Linked DNA regions of Homo sapiens: region 1 is linked to region 2. Evidence: promoter capture Hi-C in human tissues and cell types (Jung and others, 2019). All regions are on one chromosome and are shown on one strand. The core of a region is centred on a gene start or on the middle of the fragment in contact, and the rest is flanking DNA. Distances in the headings are between cores, read along the strand shown.

Region 1 (4,930 bases), core at 775-3,274, 260 kb after region 2:
TATTCCTCTGAGGACATCGGGTTGCATTGGGTTACAAAGCAGGAGGTAAGCTGTGGCAGCTCTGGGCCTGGCAGGACTGGTGCCACAGTGCCCTCCTGCTCTTGTCCCTCAGAAGCAGGCCTGTCCCTGGTCCTTCCCTGTACCCCAAGGTCATCATGTCAGAATTGGTGGCTTATGTACTCTTCAGAGATTAGAGGAAGAATTAGCACACCTGCTTTATTTTATCCAATGAGACAAGTGTAGTAATGGTAGAAGTTGAAATACTGGTCAGGGCATAGTGACCAAAATTTGGTTACCAGTACGTTTTAGACCAAACATTTACTAATTCAGTTCTAAAAGTAATTAAGAAGAATTTTGTTTCTCTTTTTCAAGAAGAGGAAATTCTAACAGCATTCTGCAGGATGATTGCCAGCTCACAGGCTGTGCATAAGACCTGTCTGCCCTTGGCCTAACTAACCTTTAAGAACCATCTCATGTAGAAATGTCTATTATTTTTATCATAGGATGTTTCTGTGAATGTGTGCCATTTGGTTCTGTGATTCAGGAGAATCCAGCCAGTTGATTAAATCCAGAGATAACTTTTGAAGATGAAGGAGAGGTGGTGAGAAGGGGGTCCCTTGGGTTTGGTGCTGGAATTGGCCTTCAGCAATTTACAAAGGCCAGGAACTGTGCCAGGGACTATACATAGTCTCTGTGGCAATATAAAATGGGGATGAGGAAGAAGGAAAAGTGAACTGATCTTTCTCGAACATCTCTTACTTGCCACGGAGTCTGCTAATTAATTCACTTAATCCTGCAGATGGGTAGCTGCCAGATAGACTGTGCCTGAGGGACTCAGGAATCATCTGGACTTAGACCCCTGTTAGCAGATCTCAGCGAAGTGGCTCTCCTCTCAGTACACACAGTGGTCAGGAGACTTGGCGTGGAGTCAGGCGGCCTGCGTTCATTCCCCAGGGCCTCCCCTAACTGGCTCCGTCACCTCTGTCTGTAAAGTGGGGATAGTAATGGTAATGCCTGCCTCTTGGGCTTATGAGCTTTAGAAGGGTCCACACAAGTGCTCAGAATACTTCCCTATACACAGTGAGCATTTATTAGATGTTACCCACTGATATTCATCATTATTTGTCCCTAGACTTTTTCCCTGGCTGCTAGAGTGGAAAGGAGAGAAATTGAAGGCATTTGTTCAGGCTGTGAAATGCAGAGATCTTCGGCAGAAACTCCAGGTGCTCTCTTCCAGTCTGGGCTTTCTGGGTTAATTTCTCACTGGAGACCCAAGCCCTCACCTGAGCCATATAAAGTTACCCCTGTATCCTCCATGACACCGTTGTGTTCTGCCTCAGGGCCTCTATGTGTCTGTGTCCCGGGCTTGGGATGCCTCCCCTTGCTCACCTGGCGAGCTCCTGCTGAAATGTTCACACAGAGTCTAAGCGTTGCCTCCTGAGTGACCCCTCCTGGGCCTTTTCTCTGCCTCACACTCCTGGGAGAGTTAATCCCTCCATCTTTTGTGCCATGACTCCTGCACCTGATGCTCGCCACATTTAGCTATCTGTTTACATGTCAGTTTCCTTACTAGACTCTAACTTCTTGAGGGTGGGGCCATGACTTTGCCATTTTGGTAGCAACAGAGCATGGCTTGGCATTCATCAGATGTTTGAATGAGTTTGTGGGTCCCATAGGCAAGCTGGGTGACTGCCAGAGGGGCCTCTTTAGTTTCATGCCATGACCTTCTAGGTGAAATGGGAAGTAATTCCATCAAGGCTTATGGGGATACAGTGAGAGGGTGGATATGAAGCCCCGAGTTGGTGCCCCATGCAGATGCTGGCCCCTCCACAGAGTCCAGAATGGAGCAGGACAGAAGTCTGATGAACTCAAACCAACTTTGAGGCCATCACCCTTTCCCGTCTTAGAAAAACAGCATCCAGAAATGATAGGAAATGTTTGGTCAGGGCATCTTGTTATCTTATTCTAAATCTTGCATCAATTGTTCATTCTCCAAACTCTTTTGAATTGTTTTCATTTTGGGCTTAACTATTGCAGATAAGCTCTTTAAATTAAAGGTTGTTTTTGCCTACTTGTTGTTTATGGACAATCTCTGTACTCCACCTTTTTTGGTATGTTAAGCATTTGGAATGAAAGATCCTGTTTAAAACTCCAGAATGGATGGACTTCAGTCACTTAGCATTGCATTTAGGTGAAAAGGGTTTTTTGTTATGGTTGTCTTTCTCGAACTTCTCTTACTTGCCAAGGAGTCTACTAATTAATTATATGACTTAATCCTGCAGATGGGTAGCTGCCAAACAGACTGTGCCTGAGGGACACGGGAATCATCTCGACTTAGACGCCTGTTAAAGTGGCTCTCCTCTTAGTACATACAGTGGTTAGGAGACCTGGTGTGGAGTCAGGCGGCCTGCGTTCATTCCCCTGGGTTCGGTTCATTTTTGCTTGGTTAAGCAAACCCTCCGAAGGCATGACTTTGACCTGCTGCAGATTGTCATATTGTAGTGTCGTTTTGCATACGCTTTTGACTGTTTAATAGTGACAACCTTGTAGTCAAGTGGAACCCTGACAGAAGGGTGTGTGTGTGTGTGTGTGTGTGTGTGTGTGTGTGCTGAATCTTTTGTACTTCGTAAGACCCAGAAAGGCAGGGCAGATGACAAAATTTCTTGAGGTTTAGAAGTCTGTGAAGTTTTCTCCCAAATTCTCAAAAGGGAAATTTATGAAGAAACTTTATTTTTAAGACATCTTTTTATATTTAAAGATACTTTGTTCAGAAATGTAAAAATGGTCACTTTATTTGCATGTTCAGAAAAAAAGGTGGGGGGAACTGAACTCTCAAAGTCAGAAAGCAGGGTTCCCGTCCCACCTCCCTCGTGAGCTATCAGTGTGGCACTGGGCTTCATTCCTCTGCGTCCCATTTTCTCTGTCTGAAAATTTAGGATGTTGAGTCTCTGAAGGTCCTTTGCACCTCTAAGCCTCTGGGATTTTTCACCTTCACCCTACCGTTTGGAGTCAAGATCTCCAGGTCAGTTGCCTGGTTTTGATGCCAGGCTCACAGAGGAGGTGGAGGATAGTGGGCTGTGCAGGAAGCTGAGGGAGTTAAGTATTAAGGCTGGAGCTTGTGTTGGGTCGAGGGGGAGAAATGGGGTTGGAGACGCCTCTGGGCTGGGTCAGATCCCGGTGCCGCGCTGGTGTTGGGGTATCTGGTCTGCGCACCGCCGGGTCCTCCCTGGCCACCCTACTGTGTGGCGACGGCTCCTCCAGCATGTTCTTCAAGCCTCTCCTTTTCAGCTTCTTCATCTTTATTTATCTGCTCTATTGATCCACATCCTAACTATTCTAAAGGGGCTGAGGTTATTTTTTAATAGCTCCCGCTTTTCCAGACTCTGCTGTGTTCAGGCAACAATTCGGATGCCCCTTCATGTTCCTCTTGTTGCTTGCTGCATGTCAAACCCTGATTGGTAGGAAGCTTCTCGAGGCTCGGACTGTGTATTCGTGAGTTTCAGATGCTTCTGCATGTTTACACAGGTCACTTTTCTTGACTAAATGATTGATGTAGTAATTAGGATTAGGCTCAGGAGATCCTCTAATAACTGGCTTAAGCGGGACAGGAGTTTATTTGCCCTAAAGAAGTGATCTTTGCCACCAGAGCTGTGTGATAACTGCATCCCGCTCCCTTCTCGGCCTGTCCTGGGGACAGCCTCATCCTGGTGCTCGGAGGCGGTATCTCAACTCCAGGCAGCAGGATGAAGGAAGACAGGGCACAGAGGATCCACCACTCCAGAAGGAAGACTTCTGGAAGATTCTTCCATTCCATGAGCCAGAGTTTAACCACATGAGATATGTAGCTGCAAGGAGGCTGGGAAGTATCTGTAACATCTTTCTTTGTTGGCCATTCCCAGCTCAGAGTTTTAAGTATTAGGGAGGAAAGGAGAAACAGACATTGGAGCAATGAACAATTCCACCCCCGTCCCCCTCACCTGATTTGTTCAGCGAAGGGTACCTCCTGTGCTGCACAGGTGTTGACGCTCTCTTCGAGAAGTTCCAGAGGCATTTGATTTAGCTGCAGAAATTCTCCACCGTAGGTTTTTGAGGAGGGTACAAGAAATGGTCAAAACAGTACTTGAGGATGAGATCCCAGCAGCAATATATGCAAGGGACAAAAGTGGGGTAAGGATTGGAGTGAGGAAGACCAGCTGGCGGCTGCAGCCAGAGGCCCTCCCTGGTTTCCTTTACAGGAACGGAAGCCTCTGCTGTCAATTGAGCCAGACTATTAACCTTTGACTTTGAGATTTTATAACTTGTTTCTGCAAGGCCACTAAAATGTAGCAAATTTAGGAGTTAAGGGCAACGTTAGACAAAAATATTATTCTGTATCAAGCTTAAGACAATCTCATTTGACCTAGTTATTTGAAGAATATAGCTGGCAAAGACAATTCCAAAAATATAGTGTATACCCATTTTTACTTTCTGGGTAGAGTATCTAAGGAACTATAAAATGGCCCTAGAAACAACAGGAATGAAGAATGGGCCTGGTAATTGTTTTCACCCAGTGACCAGCTTCTGAATAAGTAACAGTTATAGACTGCAAATTTAAACCTAGAGTGACTGATTTTACCCACAGCATTTTCTTTCTCCTTACGATTATTGCCTTCACACTAAGAATTTATTATTTATTGAAATCATCTGTATCAAGTAGCATCAAATTTATTTTATCTTGCCAGTTTTTATAGATCCACTTTTAGTGTACACTCTTAAGTAGAAAATAGAATTTTCTTGCAGTTTTAAAAATCCTTTATACTGTGGAATCTCTAATAATACATTTATTTAGCATTTCTCTTTGGCCTCATTCTAAAAAGAAGTGGAAACATCGCTCGTTGTGTATATTTTCTCATTTTTGGCCTCAACATACAAACCCATCCCAAGATCATGT
Region 2 (5,269 bases), core at 359-2,858:
TACAATCTCTTCCTCTCTTTCATATCAAAGGGTATTATATTGAGTCCAAAACAAAATATTTCCTTCTTTTTTGTTTCAGACAGGGTCTTACTCTGCCTCCCAGGCTGGAGTGCAGTGGCGCAACCATGGCTCACTGCAGCCTCGACCTCCCAGGTTCAAGCCATCCTCCCACCTTGGTCTCCTGAGTAGCTGAGACCACAGGCATGCTCCACCCTGCCTGGCTACTTTTAAAATTGTTTGTAGAGTCAGGGTCTCACTATGTTGCCCAGGCCAGTCTTGAACTCCTGGGCTCAGGTGATCCTCCTGCTTTGGCCTCCTAAAGTGTTGGGATTGCAGACATAAGCCACCATGCCCAGCCAGGGAAATTATTTTCTTTCATGTTGCTTTTAACTTTAATGTTTTGAATAGATACTATCATGACACAGTTTAAAGATTTTTTAAAGTAAGACAGTATTCAGTGAAATGTCCTCTTCTAACCCCCACCCCAATGCCCTGGCCAGTCATGGGTTCTTTAAAAAAAAAAAAAAGTCAGCAATGGAAAGCATGGCCAGACCACAGGGTGAGGTTCTTTCTCTCAGAGCAGTGATTTTGCAGCATGGTGTGGGAATCTCATGGTCTTGCAGGTGGGCAAAGCCCACTTCTAGAATCCGGCTGTGGTCAGGTCACCACCTGCCTGCTCACTGTGTCTCCAGCCTCGCATTTGCATGTATTTGTTTCAGTATGTCTTTTGAGAGTCTTCTACGTATCAACCTTCCACAAAATTCTGAAAATTTCTGTGTGTGTATGTGTGTGTTTGCAATGGAAATAAAAAGCGTCCATGAATTTTATCTTTCCAAGTAGTCTGGAACACAACCCCACAAAACCTCACAGCCAAAGGTACCTGCCTGCTTGTTTTCCTAGAGAGAAGCCTTCCCGCCACACCCACACTCAGGTTTGCACCTGAACCATGGAAACCTCGCCGAGAAAGGCCTGGGGTGATTTAGCCCGGTGATTAGCTCTTGCAAACTAGCCCTTAAGTCGGGAACCTGGGACCAGGACAAACAGCACACTGTCTGTTACCATTATTTAGGCAAATTCTTCCAGGAAGCAAACTCATTTTTTTTAAAGAGAAAAAGTACAGAAAAAAATTGATTTAAGAAGACTGAGTTCATGAACAATTTGAATATGAACTACTTGACAATAATGCCATTTAATTATTGTTAAGAACACACAACTACCCAAAAGCATTACTGATAAAATATAATTCCAAATACCACATTCCTCGGCCAAGACAGCACCTAAGAACACCATGAGGAGCAGCATCTGGGGCCACGCTGGGTGCCTGCCCTGCCCAACTGGGCTTAACGCACATGCTCCCGGGACAAATGGAATTCTGGCACCCAATGCACGGACTCTGATGGAGGAGGTCCTACTCACCATTCTCCCGAGTTTGGGATCCATTAGGCTGGAGTTCTGAAGCCTCTAGCAACTTTCCCAACCTCCAAAAAATGTGGCAGAGGGAGTCCCATGAAAGCCCCAAGAGGGTGACATTAAATATCTCTCTGTGCCCTGACCCACGTTGTCCCCCGGAAGGAAGACGAGGCTGGTATAGTGGAGCTATTCACATCTGGAGAACAAAGCGGCTTCGGAGGTATTCATTCAGCTCAACTGCAGAGGAAGAGACAATGCATCTCATACGCGCAGATACGGGATGAGGCAGTGGCCCCAAAGTCATGTGATGTCACTGGAAGCCAGCAGCCTGGCCCAGCCTGCGACTCCTCGGGTTCTTCTTTGGGGGCACTTGTGTGTCATCTCTGAGAGGGAGTAGGGCCCCGGCCAGCAGGCAGAGCTGAGCCAGCGGCACAGCCCCCTCAGGTGACAGCCCCCTCACATGACAGGCCCCCACACACTGTGGCTGTGGGCCCTTGTGATGGAATGTTACGGCCGAGGATTAGCTTCCTAGGGCTGTGCAGGGGCCGAGGGTAGAGTTTTCCCAGCTCTCTGAAGGTTCGCTGCAAAATCAGCTTGCAAAGGGCAGTTGAATTGGAGAAGAGGCATAACAGATTGATTTGCTCCTAGTTTTAAGTGACATGGGAGCCTTCAGAAGGAAGGACCAATCCCTAATGGGGTTGGGAAGCTGAGACACCCTCTTGAGGTTCCACAAGGAGTGGCGGCTTAGATTCTCGCGCAACAGGTTATGGGAGGAGAAAAGAGGACTTCAGCTGAGGGCAATCAGCGCTCACGAGGGAGGATTCAGTGGGCTTGAAGAGCACGCCACGGTCTTCGTTCAAGTCTGCTGGGCCCCGGAGCAGACAATGGTCTTGACAAGTCTGTCCAGCGTGTTCGGTGTCAGCCTTCCTTCCTGAGATATGGGTTCAGTTAACGAAAACTCAGGGAAGGGACTAGAGGTCATTCCTTTCTTCTTTGGTGGGTCAGACTTGAAGGAGATAAGGACACTTCAGGAACTCTGGGAGAGATGGTGGGGGTGGGGGAGCCGAGAGGCCTTGAAGTTCCTTTTCAGTTCAGCTTGAACAAAGCACCATATTTTGGGGTATTGGCTTCTGAGCCCCAACATCTGCTCTAACAAAAGTACCCTACACTGGGTGGCTTAAGCAACAGAAATCGGTCTCAATTCTGGAGACTGGAAGTCTGAGATGAAGGTATGGGCAGGGCAGGTTTCTCCTGAGGCTGAGCGGGAAGGGCGTGCTCCAGGCCTTGACCCGCGTGGCTGCTGGCCGTCCTTGGTGTCCCTTGTCTTGTACAAGCATCACCCGATCTCTGCCCTCATCTTCTTATGATGTTCTCCCTGTGTATGTGTGTGTGTCCAGATTGTCCCTTCTCATAAGGACACAGTTGTGTGTAATCAGGGGTCCATCCTATGCCCATGTGACCTTATCTAAAGATAAGTAATTCAATCTGCAATGACCCTATCTCCATAGAAGGTCACATTCTGAGGTCTTGGGGGTTAGGATGTCAACATATAAATTTTGGTGGGAAGGTCAGGGGACAGTAGAGAAAAGGAGGCAGCAGGGCACAGGCCAGAGCCTTGGGTTGAGGGGTCCCGGGGCTTTTCTGGGGGACTGGGATTCTTTTGCATCATTTCTCTCTGAATAACTCTTGCAGGGATTGGCACACTGGAGACTTACTCTAACTGTTTGCTGAATGAAAGGACAAATAATCAAATAATTTTTACCAACAAAGAAATCTCTGGAAAGGCAGAGTTGGAACTCATTATCCCTGCTAGTTAAGGCTAGCTGTGGCTATCAGGGCCGGGCCCCTCTCCCTTGCAGAGGGGCAGCGTCTCCACCAGCTGCGTCTCTGCACCTCCTCCCCATCCTCACACCCTTTCCCTGACACTTGCCAGGCCGGGCTCCTTGAGCTCCAGGCCCAGCACAGCAGCTCCCAGGAAGTGGGCCTGGCCCTTCTTCCGAAGGCCAAGTTGCTGGGATCATACTCAGAATTCCGAGGGCTGGAAAGGAAGGAGAGGGTGAGGCTGGGCCCAGGTGTGGGCTGTGATCCTAGGAGGGTGGGGGCCCTGCTGCCTGCAGTCATCAGTGGAAAACCTTGCCCCTACCCAGCCAAAGTCACCTCTGGCAAGAGCATAGCGCACGGGCGAGCCCAGGGCTTCAAAAGCCCATGTAATTCAGATCAGAGAATTCCTCTTTCTCAGCCTCTGTCAAATGCACTTTACTCTTTCCTTGCAGAAAATATGTGAGATATGAGTGTTCCTCACAATAATTTTTTTTCTAGAAAAGAGGAAAACAGAGCTGGCTCAAATATTTTGTTAGAATCCCAGCACTTTGGGAGGCTGAGGCAGGAGGATTCCTTGTCAGGAGTTGGAGACCAGCCTGGGCAACAGAGTGAGTCCCCATCTTTATAAAAATTAAAAATAAATCAATACAAATTTAAAAAATGTTTTGTTAGTTGATTACAAAAGAAGACATTTGATTCTATTACTAATATAGTTTGGAAGGAAGGAAGGAAAGACTCCAACAGATATTAGCAAGAACGGAAGCCAAACACAGGTCCAGGGGAAAGTGCTCCTACAAGAATTCCAATTATTTTGCCTTCTCAGTCTTCCATCTTCACAGATCTCCATCTCGATGCCAGTTAAATCTGGGAGACAGTGGAGAGAAGAGAGGGGAGAAAGGGAGAGAGGAGAGAGAGATGGTGGTGGAGAGAGAGAGGGGGAGACAGAGAGGGAAAGAGACAGACGAAGAAGCTACTCTGGGTTCCCTACTCCTAACACATGTGAACCTAAGCTAGGCTGTGCTTTTCAGCTTCCCAGGTTTCCATTGGAGAGTACGAGGGGCAATGCCTGGAGCTAGTTTTCCCTCTAACTTTGCTGTGTCAGAGGCCACCACCTGTGTCTGTCGGCGGAGTATGATGTACACCACGTCGGCAGAGAGAAATACATCCTAGGTCTGTGCCTGGTAAGTAAGCTCTGTGCCAATGACATGCCCCATTTACAGACCTCGCTTGGTCAAAATCCTATCACGATTCTTCAGCCAGATCCCCTAGCACCTTCCATACCTTTCATAAGGCATCATCACTCCCCAGGAGGCACTTTACTCACTTACAAGCAGTCTTCTTTTGCATCATTTCTCTCTTGATAACTGTTGCAGGGATTCGCACACTGGAAGTTACTCTGTAACTGTTGAATGAAAGGACAAATACTTTTTACCAACGAAGAAACCTCTGGAGTGGCAGAGTTGGAACTCATTATCCCAGCTAGCTGGGGCTCATGAAGGCTTCCTGAGCATGCCTGGGGCCCTTTTCCCTGCAGTGTGGCATCTTTCTGTATCTGGTGTAGCACAAGCACGTAGCGCCCTGCAGTCACACCCAGTGGAGAGAGAAATGGACCTCAGGCAGCCTGTACTCCCAGGAGGGAGGGAAAGATCTGCTACCTCAGCGGTATTCACCAGCTTCCATTTTCTCCTCTTCCTCAACCATCTAGACCAAGCTACTGCCACCAAGGATCTGTGTAATGACGCACCACGATGCCGATCAGTCTGAATCCTGCAGCACTGAAAACTTCATGCTTTGGTCTGCAAAGAGTCCTCCCTGACTCCAGGACTCAAACAGAGCCGGTGGGAACCACCTCTCCAAGTCTCCCATTTACTTCCCTGGAAAGAGGAGAAAGTAACCTACCTTCTCTGGGTTCAATGAGGCAAAGCTGGTTATTGTTATGATTAGAGATGAAAACAGACCTTTTGCCCTGTCTTGGGACATTAAAACATGTCCAAGAGGGCTCTTAAGAGATGAAGTTGACAGTAACAGCTTCCATTCA

Evidence for each region. The method cuts DNA at HindIII sites, captures the fragments that hold promoters and counts their contacts. A contact is called where the count stands out against the background at its distance.
Region 1: a contact is called between a fragment that was not itself captured here and the fragment with the promoter of CNDP1 in region 2, in 1 of the 25 tissues and cell types used here (spleen).

What each region holds. Positions count from the first base shown.
Region 1 is chr18:74,274,207-74,279,136 of GRCh38, reverse strand. The region is part of intron 1 of CYB5A (cytochrome b5 type A); the gene reads left to right. Among named protein-coding and RNA genes, the nearest start is that of CYB5A, 15 kb to the left of the region's middle. RefSeq lists an enhancer at 2,984-3,153. The HindIII fragment of the contact is 5,984 bases long and covers 1-4,930 here.
Region 2 is chr18:74,530,839-74,536,107 of GRCh38, reverse strand. It overlaps CNDP1 (carnosine dipeptidase 1), which reads right to left and starts at 1,608. Exons shown (of 12, transcript NM_032649.6): 1 at 1,417-1,608. The coding sequence starts at 1,440. The HindIII fragment of the contact is 24,351 bases long and covers 1-5,269 here.